Regions from separate parts of the Homo sapiens genome. Here region 2 is linked to region 1. The links are contacts of gene promoters, found by promoter capture Hi-C in human tissues and cell types (Jung and others, 2019). All regions are on one chromosome and are shown on one strand. Each heading gives the region's core, a stretch centred on a gene start or on the middle of the fragment in contact. The rest is flanking DNA. Distances are from core to core; before and after follow the strand shown. Region 1 holds the start of TEX26 (testis expressed 26). Region 2 has its middle 6.0 kb from the start of LINC01066.

Region 1 (5,746 bases), core at 1,095-3,594:
GCGTTACTTTGTGTCACCTGTCACCTCCCCCTATTCACCTGGTTGACTCCAAGCATCCTTGAGGACCCAGCTCAGGCACCTCCTTTTCTAGGAAGTTGTTCACTATAATAATCAGGGTGTTGCCCCGATGCCATCATACAGCTCATATTCAGTGCACAGTCAGTATTTGTTGAGGGAGAGAAGAAAGCAGGGGGGAAATACTCTACTTAATCATTTAGAAGGGTTGCCTCAGGCAACCAGAATTCAAAGGCAGGAATAGTGCTATACCGCTAGCCATAAAATGGACCCACGCAAAAATACACTTTGAAGTAGAAAGACTATAAAAGGAATGAAGATCAGAATAGCAACAAGAGCAATATCTTAGATTTGTGTGATTTTACAATTTATAAATTATTGTTAGAACTCATCATGTTTACAGCACAGTGAGGTGGGTGCTGGTATTCTCATTTACAGATAAGGAGACCAGGGATCAGGGAAGGATTTGCTTACCCCTAAGGGCCTGCAGTGACAGAAAGATCCTTTGGCTCTCTATTTGGTTCCTACCGCACCATTTCACAGCTTGCCTAAAATGAGACAAATTGTAAGATATTAATAAGAATTCACTTTCAAAATTCTATATACTTGCTGCTCTATTTTAAACATATATTTCTCTTAAATTATGCTATGCTAATTAGCTCTACCATTTCCAGACAGTAATCTGTTATTGGGTGCTACTTTTTAAATTTAGATGCCACTACTAAATCCTAATTTAGACTCATTCCTTTTAATAACATCTATGCCTTCTAATGTGTTCCACCCTCCATTGCTTCAAAACATGAGAGTTTATAATGTGTTATATTCATTCCATTATATGGATAGAACTCTACCTTCAGGAAATTCTAGTTTAGCTCTTCATTTTAAAGACATTCCTTGCACATATATTTGGGATCCTTACCTTGATGCTTTTTCTGTCTCCTTTGATAAATTCCTCCTTTGTCACACTGCACTGTTTCTCTGAGGTCTTGTATTAGAATAGCCCCTTAAGAATAAGGAACTGTTGTAAATTGCTTTGTAAACAGGTTGCCAGCCAACTCCAAAATGTATTTCCTGTCTTCTCTTTTCACCCAAGTGGGTAATAACTGTGTTGTAACCTGGAGACAGTCAGTAGTTACTAACCACCTAGTATGTCAAATTACCAGGTAAGGTTATCCAGCAAAAGGGGCTCACTGCACTAGAAGCCAACACTATGACACCAAGTTTTTGAGAAAAGGAAAGCTTCACATTGCAAGTTAACTTCTGAGGAAACAAAAGTCCAGTTCAAATCTGTCTTGTACTGGCTTTAGGGCAGTAATTTTATTACAAAAGGTTTAGGGTTGGATCCTGGGGTTAGCAGGTGATTGGTGGAAGCAAAGGGAACATCTGGGAAGTCTTCAGGCATGCATGGCTCTCTCTTCATGCTTCCTGGTGGGTCCCATGTGCAAATTTGGAGGGAGTTGGTATGAAACATGCAGTAGAAATTCAGGCTGTGACATCAGCAAGCTTGCTGTGCGCAAACTGCATTTGGCCATATTGATTCCGGCTGATTTCAGTCAGTTTTGTTATAAGCAGAGGGAGTTTCAGCAAATTGTTTCTTTTCTTATCTGCCCCTGAAAACAAGAATTTCTGTTAGTTATTGGTGTCTTTGACTCTTTGAAACAGTTTCAGTAGTTCCCAAGATATGAAGATAAAAGACCCCCTTCATCAGTGAAAACTCTTACAAGGGGATGAAAGACACAGCTTCCTCTATGAGAGCACAAGAACAATTAAATTGACCCTCACAAACACTATGGTTGGTGCCAGGAACGTGGCCTGGTGAGGAGGACAGTGTCACATCCTCCCTGCCCACTCCTGTTTCCACGCGTGCATTTCCTCTTCTGCCCCTCTCCTAAGCCAGGATGACCCTTCTGACCGCGTGGAACTATCACAGAAACTGCTTCCATTTATACCAGATGACTTGGGATTCAGTCTTCTTGCTTGGTTTTTATTGACTGCAAAAATCCATGACAACTTTGCGCACATTTGCTTAAGCTGAAAGCAAATGGATGAAAGTTTGTAGTTGAAAATCTACTTTCTCTTCAATCTCTTCCCTTTTTGCTTTTCTTAGGAAACATACAAGACAGTGGTCCGGAAAGCTCACTGCAAGAACTGTACAAATAATGTAAAAGTAAGGCATCCATAAGATCAAAGCCACATTTCTTTGCTCTCTGCACCCCATTCCCGCGCCGGCCAGGTTAAGCCTCCTGCGTGGCCAGCACCCCTTGGCAGGGGCAGAACTCCCTGGAACCCGATCCTTGTCTCCATGGCGACGCGTCACAAAGCAGCCCGCGGCTCCCGCAAGCGCTGAGATAGCTGGAGCCAGGGCCCCGCGGCCGCCTCCTGGGGCAGAATGGAACAGCCTGGGCCCAGGGCTCCGGATCCCTCTCTCTGCCACCACAACCTCCAGCCAAGTAAGACAGCAGACTCTGCCGGTCTGCGGGGCGGGGCTGGGGTCTTTCCCGGGGAAAGGGTCCTGTTGAGAAAAAGGGGCCTTAGTATTTAAGGGTGTGGCATCGCTCTTAGGAGTATGCTCAACTGAGGAAAAGACGGGGAGTCAGGGAGAATGACAGGGCCTTCATGACGCTGCCCCTTTTCAGTCCTTCGCATAACCTTTGCCAAATCCCCGCTCCCTAAAACGCGCAGGGTTTTTAAACACTCGAGGAAGTGCCTGGCTAAGAGGGGACAGGAAAAAAGGAAGAACTGGTGATTTTCCAAGGAAAACAGGGCCAAAGGCAAAGAAGAAAGAGAAGTCCTGGAAGCTCTGAAGAGAACAGGTCCTGCCTGAGTCCCGATCCCCATATAGGATCTTGGAAACAGCAAGGAAAGTGGGGGAAGGGTTGGCTGCTGAATGGAGTCCCAGCTGTGTCTGCAGAGGCAGACGCCCTCCCTGGGCTGTCGCACCAGGCTGGGAGCCATGGCCTTCAGCTGCCGCCTCTAACCTGAATTGATTTTTCTTCCACAGAGATTTTGTATTTCACAGAGGTAGTGCTTTTCATCCTAATTCTGCCCACAGATGCAGCAGGTTCACCAGTTCAGCCTTTTGGGTCTGTGGAGGGAGAACCACTCTAGCTGTGACGCTAGTGGCATGATTACCGTGTAGTCAGCTCCATCATAGTCTCTTGTGGCAATAATTGGCCATTGCTGCTGTATAGTTGGGTAACTGTGATTCCACAGTGGCTATGGAGCAGTGAAGGATTGTTCAAGTACAAATTCCCTAGAATTGTGCTCCCAAAAGAGTGAATGAAATGCATATTTTCATTCCAATTCATTCCGTTGTAAATTAAGAATGGAAAATGAAAATACTTAATTAGTGCAGAAAATATCTAATACACTCAGTTTCTATATGATGGGAAGGCAAACAGGAGAGACAGAGGAGGGAGGATCCCCTCCTAGCATCCCGACAGCACCCCTTTGGATGCTTCTCTTCCCTTTCTAACCACCCTGTTTTCCCACTGTCTCCCCATTTCATCCCCTTCTTGTCTGGGAACTGTTGGAGTCCCCCAGGATTGATCCTTCTAGGCTTACCTTCTCTTTGTGACCATATCCTGCACAGGGCTTCAAGTGCTGCATAAAGGTGCCAACAACTCTCTAACCTTTATCTCTGACTTGGACTTTCTTCCTACTTTTTCAGACCAGAATATCTAACTGTCTACCAGACAGTTCCATGTGGGTGTCACAGCAGGGCCTCCAACTTGACATGTGCAAAATCACACTCCTTGTCCTCCTCAAACCTTCCAGACTTTGAGAGTTCAGTTAAGAGGGTCCTAGCTGCTCAATTTAGAAGGGAAGGCAGCTTCCTTGAGACTGCAGTTTGATCACCAGGTCTCTTTGATTCTGCCTCCAAAGCTCTTTTTCCCCCAGGTGAATTCGCCCCTTTACCTCCAGGCTTGGGCCTCTAATGGCTACTCTGTGCCACTTCATTCCCCACTGCTGGGAGAGTCACCCTCCAAATGGTAGGCTTGATGTGTCCCCACTGCCCAGGTTTGGTCCGAAATAGGATGAGGTTGATGGTGACTGATGACTAACTGTTATTGAATAATTACTACAGATGGGGCTCTCAGGTGTTGTATTAGTTTCCTGTGGCTGCTATGTGTTCCCACAGACTGGTGGATTCAAACAACAAAAATGTATTTGCTCACAGCTCTGAAGGTCGAGAGCCTGAAATCAAGGTCTGGACAAGTCTGCACTCCCTCTACAGGCCCTAGGGGAGAAGTGGTCCTTACGTCTTCCAGCTTCAGGTAGCCATCGGCACTGCTAGTGATGGCAGTGGCTGCTGCCATCATGCTGGCTGCAGCAGGGAAGCACAGCTGGGGCTGCAACACTCCATGGAGCCCGTGGGAGCTGCCCCTTCTGAGTTGGGATGGGAGCTCCCTGTGCCGCTACAGCCGCCCAAACTGCAGCTACAGACCCAGGCCTCCTGCTCTATGGAGCAAGCAGGAGCCCTGCAGTCCTGGGCGAGGCTACAGCCACCCAAACTGCGGCTGTGGGTCTGAGCCTCCCTGTGCCTCTGAGCCTCCCTGTGGAACCCACGGCTGCAGACCTGGGCCTTTCACTCCATGAAGCAGGCAGGAGCCAGGGACAAGTGGGAGCTTTGCCTCTTCCAAGTTGGTGGGGCAAGAGCTCCCTGGTGCAGCTGCAGCTGCCCTCCCAGGCACAGGACCTGGGCATCTCTGCAGCCTGCACCCTTGGACTCCCCAGGAAGGACACCCTTCACCCATCCATCCCTGCAGGCTCAGGGGTATCTGATCCCACTGCCAGGCAATACCCCACCCACATCCCTGCAGGCTAAAGGGTATCTGCTCCCACTGCCTGGCCTCTCTCCACTGGCTCTGATCTCAGAGTGGGGTTGGGACCAAGCCCCAGGGCTGTGAATGGCAGCAGGAGGCAGACAGAGTCCTGGGTGGAAGGGGCTGGGGTCCCCAGTAAGGCCCCACCCTCTGACCAGGGAGGGCCTGAAGTCTGGGGACCAGGCTGCCAGTCAGGAATCTGAGTGGGGACTCATGCTGCCTCCTCCAGCCTGCGCATGGCCACCCATGGACCAATCAGCATGCACTTCCTTCCCTCTGAAGTCCATAAAAACCCTGGGCTCAGCCAGAGCAGGGAAGAGGACAGCAGCCAGAGAATGAAGAGGGCAGGGAGAGACAAGGGAACCCCCCGCTGTAGAGGAGTATGCTCTCTGCTGATAGCTGGAGATGATGGGGCAACTAGCTGCAGAAAGGAAGGAGTACCCTCTCGACTGCCGACAGACAGGAGCTACGCTCTCTGCTGAGAGCTTCAGAGACCTGCAGAGATCTCTGAATGACTTGCCTATGGAGAGGAGCTACGCTGCCTAGGGCCTCCTCTCTACTGACAGCTGAACACTTGACCGGATGACCTGCCTACAGAGAGAAGCTACCCACTCCTCCGAGCTGTTCTAACACTAAAACTCTTCTTCACTCTTCACTTGTCTGTGTACCTCAATGCGGGACAAAAACTCTGGCAAAGGCACTGCAGCCACAGAGTTTTCCAGCCAGAAAAATCAACACCCCAGAGATCCTGTAATGCTAGCTTGTGGCCTCATTACTCCAGGTCTCTGTCTCTGTCTTATAAGCACACTTGTAATTGCATTTAGGGTACACGAGGATAATCCAGGATGATTTCCTAATCTCGAAATCTTTAATTGCGTGTGCAAAGACCCCTTTTCCCAATAAAG
Region 2 (5,108 bases), core at 1,381-3,880, 58 kb after region 1:
AGTGAGTTTTCCCCAATCCTCTTGCAGATGAAGGCTTTGTTCCATAGGGGAGTTAAGGGAGAGGCCTGGTTAAGATTTCAAGCTTCTCCTGAATTAGCTGCTGTCTTCAAGGCTTGTACCAAGAAGGATGTTTTCTCCCAAGGTTCACCACTCCCTTTTGTGAGTCCTTGGTGGGGTACATGGAGAAAAGTCTACAAGAGGGTGTGAACTCCCCTACGTTTGCAGCCCCGTCAAGCACCACACTCTCTTGCCGGCCCATCCTCTCAGCCTATATCAAGTTAGTAAGTATTCTCACGGAATTCTTCTTTCTGGTGTCCGGCCACTTCTGGCTCAGGTAAGCAAATGATAGTGTCCCATCTCTCCCTGCAGATACCTGTGTCTCCTGAGTTTTGGTTGCCCTGTGTCGTCAGCTCTCTGATGGGCATAAGAAAAGTTATGAACTTGCAGTTTGTCCGATTTTCTATTGCTGTTACCTCATTAGGGTGGGAAATACACCGTTTCTGACTTTCTAGATTCCTGAACAGAAATCAAAAGTCAGGAATAGGGTTTTTATTTGAAATTTTCTGTCTTTTAACAGTTTCCAACTAATTCAAATTTTTTAAATATGCAAGTCAAAACACATCTTGGATAGGATCCCTATGTGATCTCTGCTCCCAGGGTCTTGCCATGTACCAATTTGTGCCAGTTTGGGGTTCAGGGGATTTTCTAGACCTGTTTAGCCAAATTAAAGGTGTAAATCTTACATCACAAGTCTTTTCTTATTTGCTGTTTATAATTAGTTTATGGATATAACTGGTCAATGAGTAATCAGCTACTAACTAATCTTTTTTAATTAGTCTAATGTTTATTATTTCATGGTAACTATAAACCCCCATAAAATACTTTGGATAACACGTAATTGGAATTGTATTGGAGTCATATGATGAAAACCCATGAAACCTACTGAAGGACATAAAGTAAGGCTTCGGTAAATGAAGAGCCAGTGCAGTCTTATAAAAGAAGATTCAGGCCGGGCACGTTGGCTCACGCCTGTAATCCCAGCACTTTGGGAGGCCAAGGCAGGCGGATTACGAGGTCAGGAGATCGAGACCATCCTGGCTAACACGGTGAAACCCCGTCTCTACTAAAAATACAAAAAAATTAGCCGGGCGTGGTGGCGGGCGCCTGTAGTCCCAGATACTCGGGAGGCTGAGGCAGGAGAATGGCGTGAACCCGGGAGGTGGAGCTGGCAGTGAACCAAGATTGCGCCACTGCACTCCAGCCTGGGCAACAGAGCGAGACTCCATCTTAAAAAATAAATAAATAAATAAATAAATAAAAGAAGATTCAACATTGTAAAAATGCCACTTCTTCCTAAATTGACATAAAGTTAACACCAGTAGAATTTCGAACAGTATTTTTTTATGAGTGTTGTGTGTGCGTGCAGGTAACTTGACAAAAAATTATAAAGCGCATTTGGGAAAGAACAATATCAAGAATAACCAGGAAATTTTTGATAAGTAAGATGAGTAATTAGGAGAAAACTTCCCTAACAAATATTAAAATGTATTATAAAATTGCTATACTGTACTATGTTACAGGTAACAGGAAAGATGAGCAGATTAATAGGACAAAAATAGGATCAAGAAAAAGGCTAAAATATATATGAGAACTTAGTGTGTGATAAAGGTGCCAGTGCAAAACCGTGAGAAAAAAAACGGCTTATTGAATACACGTTATTTAAAAAAAAATCCTCTGGAGAAAAAAAAAGATGCACCTTCAAATTGCTACTCAACAAAAATAAATTCCAGATGGAAGAAATAAACAAATGTAAACTATAAGCTATAACATAAAATTTTCCAACTACTAGAAGAATTTTTATTTTATTTATTTATTTATTTTAAGTTCTGGGATGCATGTGCAGAATATGCAGGTTTGTTACATAGGTATACGTGTGCCATGGTGGTTTGCTGCACCCATCAACCCGTCTTCTAGGTTTTATGTCCCGCATGCATTAGGTATTTGTCCTAATACTCTCCCTTCCCTTGCCCTCTACCCCCTGACAGGCCCCAGTGTGTGTTGTTCCCCTCCCTGCATCCGTGTATTATCCTTGTTTGACTGCCCCTTATGAGTGGGAACATGCAGTGTTTAGTTTTCTGTTCCTGTGTTAGCTTGCGGAGAATGATGGCTTCCAGCTTCATCCATGTCCCTGCAAAGGACATGAACTCATCTTTTTTGTGGCTGTATAGTATTCCATGATGTATATGTGTCACATTTTCTTTATCCAGTCTATCATTGATGGGCATTTGGGTTGGTTCCAAGTTTTTGCTATTGTAAATAGTGCTGCAATAAACATACATGTTCAACCATTGTGGAAGACAGTGTGGTGATTCCTCAAGGATCTAGAACCAGAGATACAATTTGACCCAGCAATCCCATTACTGGACATATACCCAAAGGATTATAAATCATTCTACTATAAAGAAAAATTTTTAAAGAAAATCTGTGGCTAAGGAAAGCCCTTTCTAAGCATGCTGCAAAAACCAGAAACTTAAATAAACAGACTACTAAATTTGTCTACATAAAGTATGGCTAAAACAAACTAAAAAGACCTCCCCCCCACCAAAAAAAAATCATAACCGTAAAAATGTTTAGGAGACAAATAACAGAAAAAGTATTTGCGTCATATATTAAAAAGTAGCAATAGTAGTATTATCTATGCAAATATTAATCGTAGTTCATGTAAATCAATAAGAAAATAACAAACGCCTCAATGGAAAAATGGACAATTGTTTGTCACATTGGCAAAGATGACCCAGCATCAGCAAGGGTGGTAAAGGGCACGCTCGTGCATTCATGGGATGTGTATCAATCTCCCAGAGTTGCTGTATCAAAGCACCACAAACTAGGCGGCTTAAAATAACAGAAATTTATTATCTCATAGTTCTAGGGGCTAGAAGTCAGAAACCAGGCTGTTTGGCAGGGCCATGCACCTCTGAAGCTTATAAGGAAAGATCCTTCCCTGCTTCTTCCAGCTTCTGGTAGCCTAGGCATTGCTTGGTTTGTAGATTTATCACTCTAATCTCTGCCTCTGTTGTCACATGGCATTCTCTACCTTCCTTCTGTGTCTGTCTGTGTCCAAAGTCTCCTCTTCCTATAAGAACTCCACTCATATTGGATTATGGCCCACTCTAATCCCTCATGACTTTGTCTTGATTACATCTGCAAAGACCCTATTTCCAAATAAAACGGCATTCACAGGTTCTGGAGGTTGGAAATGCAACATATCTTTTTGAGGGATACAATTCAACTCATAACAGAGTGTAAGTTGGGTACAGTCTTTCCAAGGGACAGTTTGGCAATATGTTTCCGAGTTCCATTTTCATAAATATACTCTAATGACGTCTTTGCACAAATGGGAAACTTACATACCGGTTTTTGTTGTGATTGTTCATCAAAGTGTCATGGTCAGTGATTGTCTGGGACTGGTGCGTAAGAGTTAAAATAATTTACCAAGACAGGAATGAGTTTAGAAAGGCAGGTTTATTGCAGAAAGGGGAGGTATGTTGCAAGGATATAACGGGCAAGGCAGCGGAAGGAAGGATGTCTGCCAAGAGGCAAGGCCTGGAGGGGAGTTTTATAAGGAGGCTAAATGCTTGTGGACAGGATGCTGGGGCATAGATGGGCTGTGAGCTGAGTGCCTGTCACAGGGTGCCTGAGTGCTAGCGCGCCTTTTGCAGTTGACCCCATTTCTAGGAATATTTGTTCCTCTTTACCCCAGCTAAGCCCGTTCTTTAACTTTTTCTCTTAACTTTTTAGGGCCCCGCTCAAAGCACTATATAAAACTCCGGAAAAAATGTCAACAACCGTTATGCTCATTAATACGGAACCTTTAAGGAAATTCAGAATGAAACATTATGCACATATTTAGGTCTATTTTTATTGATACGGAAACACACTCTAGATATCTTGCTAAGTGAAAAAAGCAGGTTACAAAATAGTATGATCTCATTTATATAAAATTGTACATCTTTACATAAATGTAGAGCCTGAAAAAATGTTCAGCAAATTGGCCACGCACGGTGGCTCACGCCTGTAATCCCAGCACTTTGGGAGGCCGAGGCGGGCGGATCACGAAGTCAGGAAATCGAGACCACGGTGAAACCCCGTCTCTACTAAAAAAAAAAATACAAAAAATTAGCCGGGCGCGGTGGCGAGCGCTGAGGCAGGAGAATGGCGTGAACCATCTTACATGTAGTATTTAAAAGTAGAGCATCTCCACACTTTTTTTTTTAAAGGCTGGGAGAGGTCATTTTTGTGAAGTTTAAAGAACCCTGCACTTGAGGACAGAGAGCTGGGCTGGCCCGTCTCCAAACAGAAATGGCTGTATTGCTTACTGATTATGAAATCTCACATGCATCACATCTTATCTGGATTTTTTTCTTCCTATGCAGGTGAGGATTACAACACTGGAGCAGTTATTTCAAGGATTAAGTAGATGAACTATTTGGGAGCCACTGGCAAACTGGGAAGTGCCAATTCATTCTTCAACTGTGTTAGGCAGAGTTCTAGGCTCTGTGGATTCCTCAGGAAAGGGGATAAATGTACATTCATGGAGCTAATATGCTGAAGGGAGAAAACTGACAAACTAATACACAAATCTTTGCTATAATAACAAGTATGAAAGTATGAGGAAAAACATAAAATGGGTGTAATACAAACATGTATTTCATATAAATCTGCCATGTAAATATGTATCACAATGTCGAGTTCAGAAGTATCAAGAAAAATACAACAGGCTAAGGGCATAGAGGGGCCTGAGAGTTTGCTGTTTGAGGTAGGGTGGTGGGAGAAGCCCTCCCCATAAGATGGCACTGACTTCATTCCTGGTGGAAGTGTGGGAGGAGGGGAGAACCTTGGGACCATCTCGGGGAAGAGCCTTCCAGGCAGAGGGAACAAGCATAGGAGCCCTGCATGTCCTAAGAGCGGGTCAATGTGGCTCCAGAGAAATGAGGGAGACTGGTGGTAGGTGAGGTCCAACAGGTAGAAGTACAGACCATGGTGTGCCTCTGCATTCGGACTTTACTTTGAATGAGAAAAGAAATATGGCAGGGTTTTAAGTAGAGACT

What was found. The method cuts DNA at HindIII sites, captures the fragments that hold promoters and counts their contacts. A contact is called where the count stands out against the background at its distance.
Region 2: a contact is called between a fragment that was not itself captured here and the fragment with the promoter of TEX26 in region 1, in 1 of the 25 tissues and cell types used here (pancreas).

What each region holds. Positions count from the first base shown.
Region 1 is chr13:30,930,312-30,936,057 of GRCh38, forward strand. It overlaps TEX26 (testis expressed 26), which reads left to right and starts at 2,345. Exons shown (of 7, transcript NM_152325.3): 1 at 2,345-2,465. The coding sequence starts at 2,405. It overlaps TEX26-AS1 (TEX26 antisense RNA 1), which reads right to left and starts at 2,297. Exons shown (of 4, transcript NR_038287.1): 1 at 935-2,297; 2 at 490-563. The HindIII fragment of the contact is 5,735 bases long and covers 561-5,746 here.
Region 2 is chr13:30,987,744-30,992,851 of GRCh38, forward strand. No RefSeq gene overlaps it. Among named protein-coding and RNA genes, the nearest start is that of LINC01066, 6.0 kb to the right of the region's middle. The HindIII fragment of the contact is 6,426 bases long and covers 1-5,108 here.